2 separate regions of the Homo sapiens genome follow, and region 2 is linked to region 1. The links are contacts of gene promoters, found by promoter capture Hi-C in blood cells and fetal thymus (Javierre and others, 2016). All regions are on one chromosome and are shown on one strand. The core of a region is centred on a gene start or on the middle of the fragment in contact, and the rest is flanking DNA. Distances in the headings are between cores, read along the strand shown. Region 1 holds the start of HENMT1 (HEN methyltransferase 1). Region 2 overlaps STXBP3 (syntaxin binding protein 3).

Region 1 (5,250 bases), core at 2,027-4,526:
TCCTGTTAAGCATCAGGCTCAAACTGGCATCCAGAATAACTTAAAAAATTTTGTCAGGCGCGATGGCTCACGCCTGGAATCCCAGCACTTTGGGAGGCTGAGGCGGGCAGATCACTTGCGGTCAGGAGTTCGAGACCAGCCTGGCCAACATAGTGAAACCCTGTCTCTACTAAAAATACAAAAATTAGCTGGGCATGGTGGTGCGTGACTGTAATCCCAGCTGCTCATGAGGCTGAGGCAGGAGAATCGCTTGAACCTGGGAAGTGGAGGTTGCAGTGAGCCGAGATCACGCCACTGCACTCCAGCCTGGGTGACAGAACCAGACTCCGTTTTAAAATATTAAAAAATATTTTAAATTTTGAAATTAATTTTTTGTTAGACAGGGTCTCACTCTGTTGCCCAGGGAGTGCAGTGACATGATCACAGCTCACTGCAGCCTCAAACTCCCAGGCTCAAGCGATCCTCCTGCCTCAGCCTCCTGAGTACCTAGGAGTACAGGTGCCCGCCAGCATGGCCAGATAATGTTTTTTTTCTTTGTAGAGACAGGTCTCGCTATGTTGCCCAGGCTGGTTTTGAACTCCTAGCCTCAAGCCATCCTCCTGCCTCAGCCTCCCAAACTGCTGGGATTACAGTCATGAGCCACCTCACTCAGCCCAGGATAACTCTTGATTACCTATTGTGTGCCAGACACCTACACCTGCTGGACTGTAAAAGCTATGAAAGGATCTTTATCTGTCTTTTAAATTCAAACAAGTACTTGATCCATAATAAATACTCTATACACATTTACCAAATAAGTAATCATTTCTCATTTTTTAACTTAAAAAAACCCCCTAACACTCAGAGAGGATGCAACTTCCAAAGGTTATGCAGTAATAGTAAAATCTGGATTTAAGGCCTATTTGACTTAAAATCCACTCTAAAAGACGTTACATGGTCTATAACTCAGTAGGACTTACCTTGTGTACGAAGGAAAGATGAGTTATAATGACAAAATGAGATGACAAGGCTAAGCTATTAGCTGTGGGAAGGAACAGATGGTAGATGACAGCTTGAAGAAGTCAAAATTTGGTGATTGTCCAAGTGTGGGAAGGACAAAAATGGACAGAGCCAAGGATGATTTTTCAGACTCTAATAAGAGTAGGAGGCCAGGAGAATGATGAAATAGGCAAATTTGGAGAGGGAATGGACATGAGGAGCTCAAGTTCATAAATGGGCTAACCAGCAGGGGAGGCAAAAACCCTAGATCCAGGAATGCTGTATAGATGATAGCTTTTATGTTTTCCTTAAAATTTTTGAAACTGTGGTAAATATACATAAAACCACTTTAACAATTTTTAAGTTCAGTGGCATTCAGTGCAACCATCCTATCTACAAAACTTTTCCATCACCCATTAAACAACTCTCAATTCCCTCCTCCTCTCAGCCCGTAGCAACCACCATTCTACTTTGTCTCTATGAATTTGGCTACTCTAGGTACCTGATATAAATTGAATCATGCAGTATTTGTCCTTCCGTGACTGATTATATATCACTCAGCATATCATCATCAAGATTCATCCATGTGGCAGCAAATGTCAGAATTTCACTCCTTTTAAAGGTTGATTTTCCTGAAACTCTGATTGGAAAAATAAAGGCTGAATATTCCATTGTATGTATATCACATTTTGTTTATTCATCCTTTAATGGACATTTGGGTTGTTTCCACATTTTGGCTACTGTGAATAATGCTGTTACGAACTTTGGTGTACAAATACCTGTTTGAATTCCTGCTTTGAGTATATACCCAGAAGTGAATTTATTATTTAAACATTCTATTTTAAATTACATCCTGTAGTAAGGTGTACACTCCTTTAATGAAGTCTGCTAAAACTAGTTTCCCCAAGTCAACAGGAACCTCTCAAACTGTAATGTGAAATTATCACTGAGTGTTTTTTCTTTTTAGACATGGTCTGGTTCTGTCGCCCAGACTGGAGTGCAGTGGTGCAATCATAGCTCACTGCAGGCTCAGATTCCTGGGGTCAAGTGATCCTCCGGCCTCAGCCTCCCAAACAGTTGGGACCACAGGCAGGCACCACCATGCCCAGCTAATTTCTTTTTTTTTTTGGTAGAGACGGGGTCTCACACTCCGGGGCTCAAGTGATCCCCCAAAGTGCTGGGATTACAGGCGGAAGCCACGGTGCCGGGCCTTATGATTGAATTTTTGAAGCTTATTGTTAGTTATGTACTTCTTTACCTATGACACTAGACTCCCCAAAATGCCAAAAACAAGATTGGTGTAATTTATCATTGTGGTACCCTTAAGCTGTCAGCATAGTGCTTTGCATACAGCAGGCGTTAAATGTTTGAAAATACAGTTCCAATATATCATTTGTGGCATATTAATAGGCTATTAATTCAGTAGCAAAAACACCAGCTTTTGCATCTTTCAAAATATAAGTCAATCTTTTTTCCCTAAAGAAGGCAGCTTCGTCCCTCCCCTCACCCCCCTAATACTCTTCCATCATATACAGGAAAGAAAGTACTTATATATATTAAGTGGAGTCTCCAGAGGGAAGGATGGCAGGATACAATAACTTTTCCAAGAGATCAACAGTTCTATCCACAACACTCGGGGAAAACTATTTCGGGGGTCGGGTGGCGGTGGAGAGGGGGCGTTGGGAGCGGAAAGAACGTTTTTCTGAACGCAGGTGTCACTGGGCCAACTTCACCCAGCCTACATTCCTTTAAGGCCCCCGTGGACTGCTCTGGGATGAAAGCGGAGGCTGACTGGGACTCCAGCCGCCGGCCGCCTCGCGTGGAGCCTTGCTGCTCCTCTTGCCGCCTTCCGCTGGCCAGGACCGTTTTTAGGCCTTTGCCACGCCTCGGGAGCGCCACGAACTCAACAGCCGCCCAAGCCGCCTTCCGGCTCGCGGTCTGCGGACGCGCTCGGAGTTGGGGGCCTTCGCCAACAGCTGCCGTACCGTGCCGCGTCGCAGCCGCACGCTAGCGGGGTCAACGGCGCGGCAGGCGCAGGGGTCCTCGCCAAGGTTCGGAAGAGGACCTTGAAAATGGCTTCTGGGCATGCGCCACAGCGGCCGTTACGAGACGCAAAACCGACGCCTTGGAACTGAGAGCCTAGAGGGACGGAGCTCGGCGCACCATGAGGCTCCCGGGGCCCAAGGCCGACCGTGAGAGCGCACGAGGTTGGCGAGCCCCGCGGGGAGGCCGAGGCGCGGGTGCGGGCGCCGGCGTAGCCGCGGCGGTAGCGTCACGCAGCGAGGCCGTGCGTGCGCGGGCGTCAGGGCGGCGCTGAGTTGAGGACGCTGGCGGCTCCGCGACGAGCTTTGTTTTTTCGGTTGGGCATGCTGCTTACCGCAGGATGATGGAAGCGACGGCCCGTACAAAGACAGAAGCGTTGGTTTCAGTGAGCAGGGTTTCTTTTTCTTTTTCTTTTTTTTTTTTTGAGACGGAGTCTCGCTCTGTCGCCCAGGCTGGAGTGCAGTGGCGGGATCTCGGCTCACTGCAAGCTCCGCCTCCCGGGTTCATGCCATTCTCCTGCCTCAGCCTCCCAAGTAGCTGGGACTACAGGCGCCCGCCACTACGCCCGGCTAATTTTTTGTATTTTTAGTAGAGACGGGGTTTCACCGTTTTAGCCGGGATGGTCTCGATCTCCTGACCTCGTGATCCGCCCGCCTCGGCCTCCCAAAGTGCTGGGATTACAGGCGTGAGCCACCGCGCCCGGCCAGGGTTTCTTAATACAAGTTGGTGACTAACATGTTGCCTAGATTCCAGATTAAAGTCTAGTTGTTGGAGACACATGTGCAATAGAGAACTAAAATTTAAATTCAAGTTCGTGAGTGAATTGAATAGATGTTGGAGCATCTCTAGTTTATCAAGGACACTTTTTTTCCCCCTCGAAATTTCATTTTGACGATGTGTGGAAAAATTTTTGAAAAAATTTGAAGTTGAGGGTCTTAGCAATGAAATGGGCAGAACTCCTAAGATTGCTCCGTTTGTATCTAGTTGAACTATTCATGATAGTAAAGGGAAAGGATGGCTGTTTTCGCTCTTAGTAGGGTTTGACGTAGTGAAAAGTTACGCTTTCTGAGCCTGTTTGCGAATGTCTGAAAAAATACTGGATACATTCTGTGGATTAAATGGTAGTCCACATTTAATCCACAGATTGGCTATTGTGAATAATGCTATGAACTTCGGTGTATAAATATCTGTTCGAGTCCTGCTTTCGTGTTTTTTTTTTTTTTTTTGAGTACTCAGAGGTGAATTCATTATTTACTTTTAAGCGTTCTATTTAAATTATATACTGTAGTAAGGAGTAAGAAAGAGGCTTTCGTTCTTCCCTTCTGAACTAGGCAGCTATTTCTTTCAGGTATCGCTTTACAAAAACGGTTTTGTATTTATTACAGCTGAGTCAGTGCTGATTCTCTCAAATAGAGCTTGAAGGATAAATCTTCATTTTTGTTTCAACAAAACTTCGAAACAAAATGGAAGAAAATAATCTACAGGTAATGCCACCCTTCTTAGCTGCGTCTTTGACTCTTAAGAATTATCACCTGGATGTATTGTGAGATAATTGCAAACAAAATTGATCACATTTAGGTCCTAGCATTTCCCGGGGTGTTGGTTGAGGTAAACAAGGGTATACATAGATGAAAGAGTCACATTTGGTGTATGTAAGTAAAATAAATGTTTTTACTTTTATCACTAGGTGTTAAAGTAGCAAAATCTATTTTAAAAACACTCTAAGTAGTGTTCCCCAATGTGGTTGTGTATATGGATCACCTGGGGATTTTGTTAAGTTGCAGATTCTGTTTAAGGAGGTCTAGGGTGAGGCCCAAGCTTTTGTGTTTCTAAAGTTTCTAGGTGAAGATGCCACTGGTTTGGAAACCACATTGGGAGTACCTAGGGTGTAGCTCCCTGCTGTCCAGTAGCTACACATGGCAAGTGGGCACTTGAAATGTGGCTAGTGGAATTGAGGAACCGAACTTTAATTTTTTTTTTTTTTAAGACAGGGTCTTGCTCTGTTGCCCAGGCTGGAATGCACTTGCCCAGTCACGGTTAACTGCAACGCTGACCACCTGGGCTCATAACTTCATTTTTAATTTTAAGTTTAAAATTGGATATTTGATTACATTATTGGAAAAAAGTATGTTTGGAATAACTTGGGTATGTGCATGTATATTTTAAATGTAAAGTTTTTAAATCCAATACAGACAAGTATTTCTGATGAAGGTTTTGGAACTGAGACGC
Region 2 (5,250 bases), core at 1,038-3,537, 91 kb before region 1:
TGGCTCTGCAGTTCCACAGAACTTTTATGTATTATCAAATGGTTCTCACCCTAGTTTCACATCAGAATGACCTTTCAGAACTTAAAAAACTTAAGTGGCTTAATCAATATTTCACTTATCCAGGAGTAGAAAAATCAAGGCTTCAATTTTCTAATTTCTAGTTTAGAGCTTTTTACATTGAGGGTCAGAAAGACCACAATTGAATATGTAATAAACAATAAAGGTTACTTTATGGCTGGGCATGGTGGCTTACACCTGTAATCCCAGCACTTTGGGAGGCCAAGGCAAGTGGATTACTTGAACCCAGGAGTTTGAGACCATCCTGGGCAACATGGTGAAACCCTGTTTCTATCCAAGAAAATATACAAATTAGCTGGGTGTGCTAGTGTGTGCCTGTAGTCCCAGCTACTTCGGAGACTGAGATGGGAGGATTGTTTGAACCCAGGAGGAGGAGGCTGCAGTGAGCCAAAATCGCACTACTGCACTCCAGCCTGGGTGACAGAGTGAGATCCTGTCTCAAAAAAAAAAAAAAAAAGATTATTTTATGTGTAAACATCAAAACATAAATATTATATGGTCAGACTTTCTTGAGAATACTGGGTATACTTTTGAACTTCATTAAGTTAGGAGTAACAGACGGTACATAAACTACATTAGGATCCAAAATATAAATGAATTATATTTCACTTGGAGCCTCAGATTCCTCATTACAAATGAGAGTATTTATCTGTCTTCATAGGGTTATTATGAAGATCAAATTTTAATAAGTGAGTTAAAGGATGATGAATTAAGAATAACATGATTATGCATGTTACAAGATATTGGTATTTTCCTCAATAGGTAATACAGATTAATATCTCAATAACATAATCCCGCCTAGAGGAAGATAACTTCTTATGACATTATGATTTTTTTTCAGAATCTGTAAGTATTTCAAATTTTCATACTAAAACTGATTTAAACTTATAATTATTTGTCTCATTTCTGGTAATAAAGATAAATTTACGAAGTCAGCATTATGCATTTGTAAACATGTACAACAGCTGATTTTATGACATAAATCTTGATATCCATTTTAAAGCGATATATGAAACCATAAACTAAATCAAAATACTGAAGTAAAGCTTGTGTATCAATATACAAAATTGTTTTATATATATATATGTATATATGAGTAAAACATTTAAAGAACAACCTCAACAAAGCAATTAAGTTAGGCTTGGTTAGAGGTCTTAATTATATGTCTCGGCTGAGGGAAAAAAACTGACAGAAGATTCAGAGAAAAGAATGTTAAATCTAATAGTTATGGCTACAGTAATTTAAAAAAATAAGCTCCTTAGAAACACAACTACTAACTAAAATTTAATACCTCAGATCTCCCCCAATTACAATTAAAAAGTGTTCATGCCAAGAATAACACTTACCAGTAATACCTTCTTCTAGAAGATCTGTCATTTTGCAACACGATGCCAAAAGCTTAGTGGTAAATTCATCTAAAAGCATTATCTTAAAACAAACACAAATTTAAAAATACTGTAAGCATCCTATTACCAAGAATGAAAAAAAGAATTTTATCCATTAAACTTTATAAGCCTTTTATAACACAAAATATCAGAACAGTAGGCAAAATGATCTCATCTTTTATCTTGCATGAGCTAGAGATTTTCTCAATATACATGCATATAGTATCGTACATAAGTAAACAAACAGAAATATTTCTAATTTGAAACATAGAGCTTATTCATTTTGAATGACACTGTTTAACATCAAATTTTCTTAAAATTACAATTGCCACTTGTAGAACAATTATTGCACAAAGCACTGTTTTAAGTAATTTCCATGGATTAATTCACCTCATATTTACAATTACCATATGAGGTATTACCATCACCATTTTTATAAACAAGGAAATGGGGCAGAGAGAGGTCAAGTAACTTGTGCAAGGAGCCACAGCTATTAAGTGGTGAAGTTAGTATTTGGAGCCAAGCAGTGTGATTCCAGACCCTATATAGTCATCCCTCGGTATCCATGGGGGTTCGAGGACCCCTGTGTATACCAAAAATCCATGGATGCTCAAATCTCTTATATAAAATAGTGTAGTGTTTGCATGTAACCTACACACATCCTCCCACATACGTCAAATTATCTTTAGATTACTTATACTAGAATACCTAATACCATGTAAATACTATGTAGTTTTTATACTGTATTGTTTTTAAAGTTTGTATTATTTTTTATAAGAGCAAGGTATGCAAACTCTACCTTCCATTCGCCTTCTTTCTTGCAGTCATCAAACACTGTTGCTTTTATCTCTGTTTAAAAAAGAAAGGAATTACTTAGGAATTAAATAAACAGAAACATAGTAATCCAAAGGGTCCAAAATGGCTAAGGAAAAATCCAATTTGAAATTTGTTAAACTACATAAAAAGCATACATATTTGTTAAACCTTACGGAAAAATCCAATTCTAATACCTAGCCTATACAGTACATTTAAACTGTAATCAATTTTTTAACTTTAAAAGGTATTATAAAAAGGGTTAATATATTTAAGTACATGAACGTACCGAGAAAATATTTCTAAAATTATTACCTGATTTGGTTTTTCCTATTCTACTTAAATCCCAAGTAAAACAAGATGAAAACAAAAAACCCACGGGAACATCCTTAAGTTGCCCATTGCTAAATTATATCTGATGATCAAATCTGCATAAACATTTTTCATACTGATTTACTACATTATGCTTTTCAACAATACATATCACAGCATTTGGATACCAATATTCAGTCTTGATTTATAATCAATAAATATGTTCCTTACAATGACTTTCAAAATTATCTAAATATGTTTTAAAAATTAGTTCACTGATTTAAAAACATTTTCCATTATGTATTAAATAATTCATGTGGACAATTTATACAAATATCTGTTCTACTTAATAAAACAATTTCCCACACTATGTTTTATTAATGTTCAATTGATTTTAAAATCGGTAGTAATACATAGTAATACATAAAATATAATTAAAATATAAATTATAGTAACCTATTTTTCATTAAATCTTATTAATGAGATGGTTATTTCATTAACTTAAGCTTTTCTATTTCCTAATTTATATTTAAGTTAATGCTTTTGGGAAATTTATCAACAAGTTTTTGGTAACAAGTCATGTTAAAAACTGACGGCTCTTCTATCAGAGGGTATAAATAATAACAGTTACTGTGGTACAATAAAAAATATTTGGTTTTTACCCCCTGTTCCTAGCACAGAGCCCCTAAAGACCTTGGAATCTCCTGAGTGATAGCATCTCTTCCGTCTGCAAATGAAATGACTCTTGGGTGAGGGGCCCCTATACAGCTTTAGATTGAGGGCTGGTCACCAGACCAAGCCATGTTTAGAGGGTTGGAACTTTCAGCCCCACCCCAGGACCTCTGGGAAAGAAGAGGGACTGGAGATTGAGTTCAATCACCAGTGATGTAATCATTCATGCTTATATAATGAAGCCTCCATAAAAACCCCTTAAGAGAGTTTGGAGAGCTCCCAAGGTGGTGAACAAACCATGTGCCAGGAGGGTGAGACACCCAACTCCATGTGGATAGAAGCACCTATGCTTAGGACCTTTTTTGACCTTACCCTATGTACCTCTCCAACCTGGCTGTTCATTTGTATCTTTTGTAATAAACTGGTAATAGTAAGTTAAGCGTTTTCTGAAGTTCTGTGAGCCATTCCAGCAAATTAATGAACCTGAAAGGGAAGGGAGGTTGTAGGAATTCCTGACTTTGTAGCCAAGACAGACAGAAGTGTGGGTAACCTAGGGACTTGGTACTGGCATTTGAAGTGAAGGCAGTATTGTGAGACTGAGCCCTTAAACCTGTGGAGTCTGACACTAACTAGTGTTCCTAGCTAACTAGTTCCTAACTAACTGGATATCCTACAATTCATTTCAATTCTGACACTAATACAGCTGGTGTCCAGAGTTGGAGAACTGGTTGGTGTGAGGGGGGAATAAAACACATATTTGGTGTCAGAAATGTTGTTAGTAAAAGCAATTCAGTTATTTATAGTCATTTTTAGAATTGTGATCTGGAAGGTTGTATTGTGATTGAGAAGATTTGGAAGTGTTATGAAATATCAATTGAGATAATTATATATTGTTTGCTAGGAGGATTATAGTGTTATATGAGAATTATGGTGAAAGTCCGAAATATTTAACCATAATTTAAGCCAAAAGCGCTGGCTTCTAGAACCCTACAGGCAAAAATAAAGGATTTTCTCCGGTAGAGCTCAGATACAGAAATATTATGCTGCTTTTCCTTTCAAAGCTAGCTTCATTCCTTATACCTCAAACAGCTGAAAATTGAAGACATTTGCTTGTTTTTATCAGATTTATTTGTGTCTTTCTCTTAAGAAATGAATGCTCATGGAATTTATGATGGAGCAGATTGGAGAAAAGCTCCCCAAGCAGAAGTCATCTCATTACAGTCTTTGAAACCTTAGAACTGCATTGTCCTAGATGGTGGAAACCAGCCATATCTGGCTATTGAGCACCTGAAATGTGGCTAGTCTGAACTGAGATATCCTGTAAGTACAGAATACATATGAGACTTCAAAAAACCTTAGCACAAAAAAAGGAATGTAAAAAACTTATTAGGTCAAATATAATATATTAATTTTACCTTTTTCTTTTTACCTTTTTATGTGACTACTAGAAAATTTAAAATTACATATGTGCTTTAAATTTCTAATGATAGAACTGTCTTGGAATCTGAAGATACTTGGATCTACCTGTGTCTGCCAGACGAAAAAATAAAAAGAATCTGAAGATACCTACAGAGTCAGTGTTATTGTCTAAAAGAACGAACTAGTTTTATGGAGATAGTAAGGGCACCCATAAAAAGTGACACAGTCACAGGTAGGTATGTTTAGAGAGGAGTCAAAGGAAATCATATCAACAAATACTATAGAACTAAGGAGGTATTTCCTCTAAATACTAATGAAAATCATTTGACCTTATATCCATTTCTCTAGCATCCTAAATATGGATATATCTCAAGACTCAATTCTCTTACTTTTGCTCTGCTTGTTCTCAGAGCAAAGGTAAGAGAATTTGCTCCTGTGGCTGGTCTTCTCAGAGACCATATTCATCATCAAAGTTTCATCTATCATATTAATCTTTCGATTTTCCACAATCTTACAGCCTTTCTCTCTTTGAACTTCATTCAACTACGCAATACAGATACAAGCAGCTACA

What was found. The method cuts DNA at HindIII sites, captures the fragments that hold promoters and counts their contacts. A CHiCAGO score of 5 or more calls a contact.
Region 2: a fragment that was not itself captured here is called in contact with the fragment with the promoter of HENMT1 in region 1 in 1 of 17 cell types (naive CD8 T cells); the score reaches 5.2 in naive CD8 T cells.

The regions. Positions count from the first base shown.
Region 1 is chr1:108,659,119-108,664,368 of GRCh38, reverse strand. It overlaps HENMT1 (HEN methyltransferase 1), which reads left to right and starts at 3,276. Exons shown (of 8, transcript NM_001102592.2): 1 at 3,276-3,406; 2 at 4,407-4,505. The coding sequence starts at 4,485. LOC105378890 (a long non-coding RNA gene) reads right to left here and starts at 102. Exons shown (of 2, transcript XR_947679.3): 1 at 1-102. RefSeq lists enhancers at 2,379-2,967, 2,968-3,557 and a silencer at 3,143-3,312. The HindIII fragment of the contact is 2,630 bases long and covers 2,212-4,841 here.
Region 2 is chr1:108,749,319-108,754,568 of GRCh38, reverse strand. STXBP3 (syntaxin binding protein 3) reads right to left here. Exons shown (of 19, transcript NM_007269.4): 2 at 2,263-2,312; 3 at 1,425-1,506. Among named protein-coding and RNA genes, the nearest start is that of STXBP3, 5.3 kb to the right of the region's middle. The HindIII fragment of the contact is 1,618 bases long and covers 1,479-3,096 here.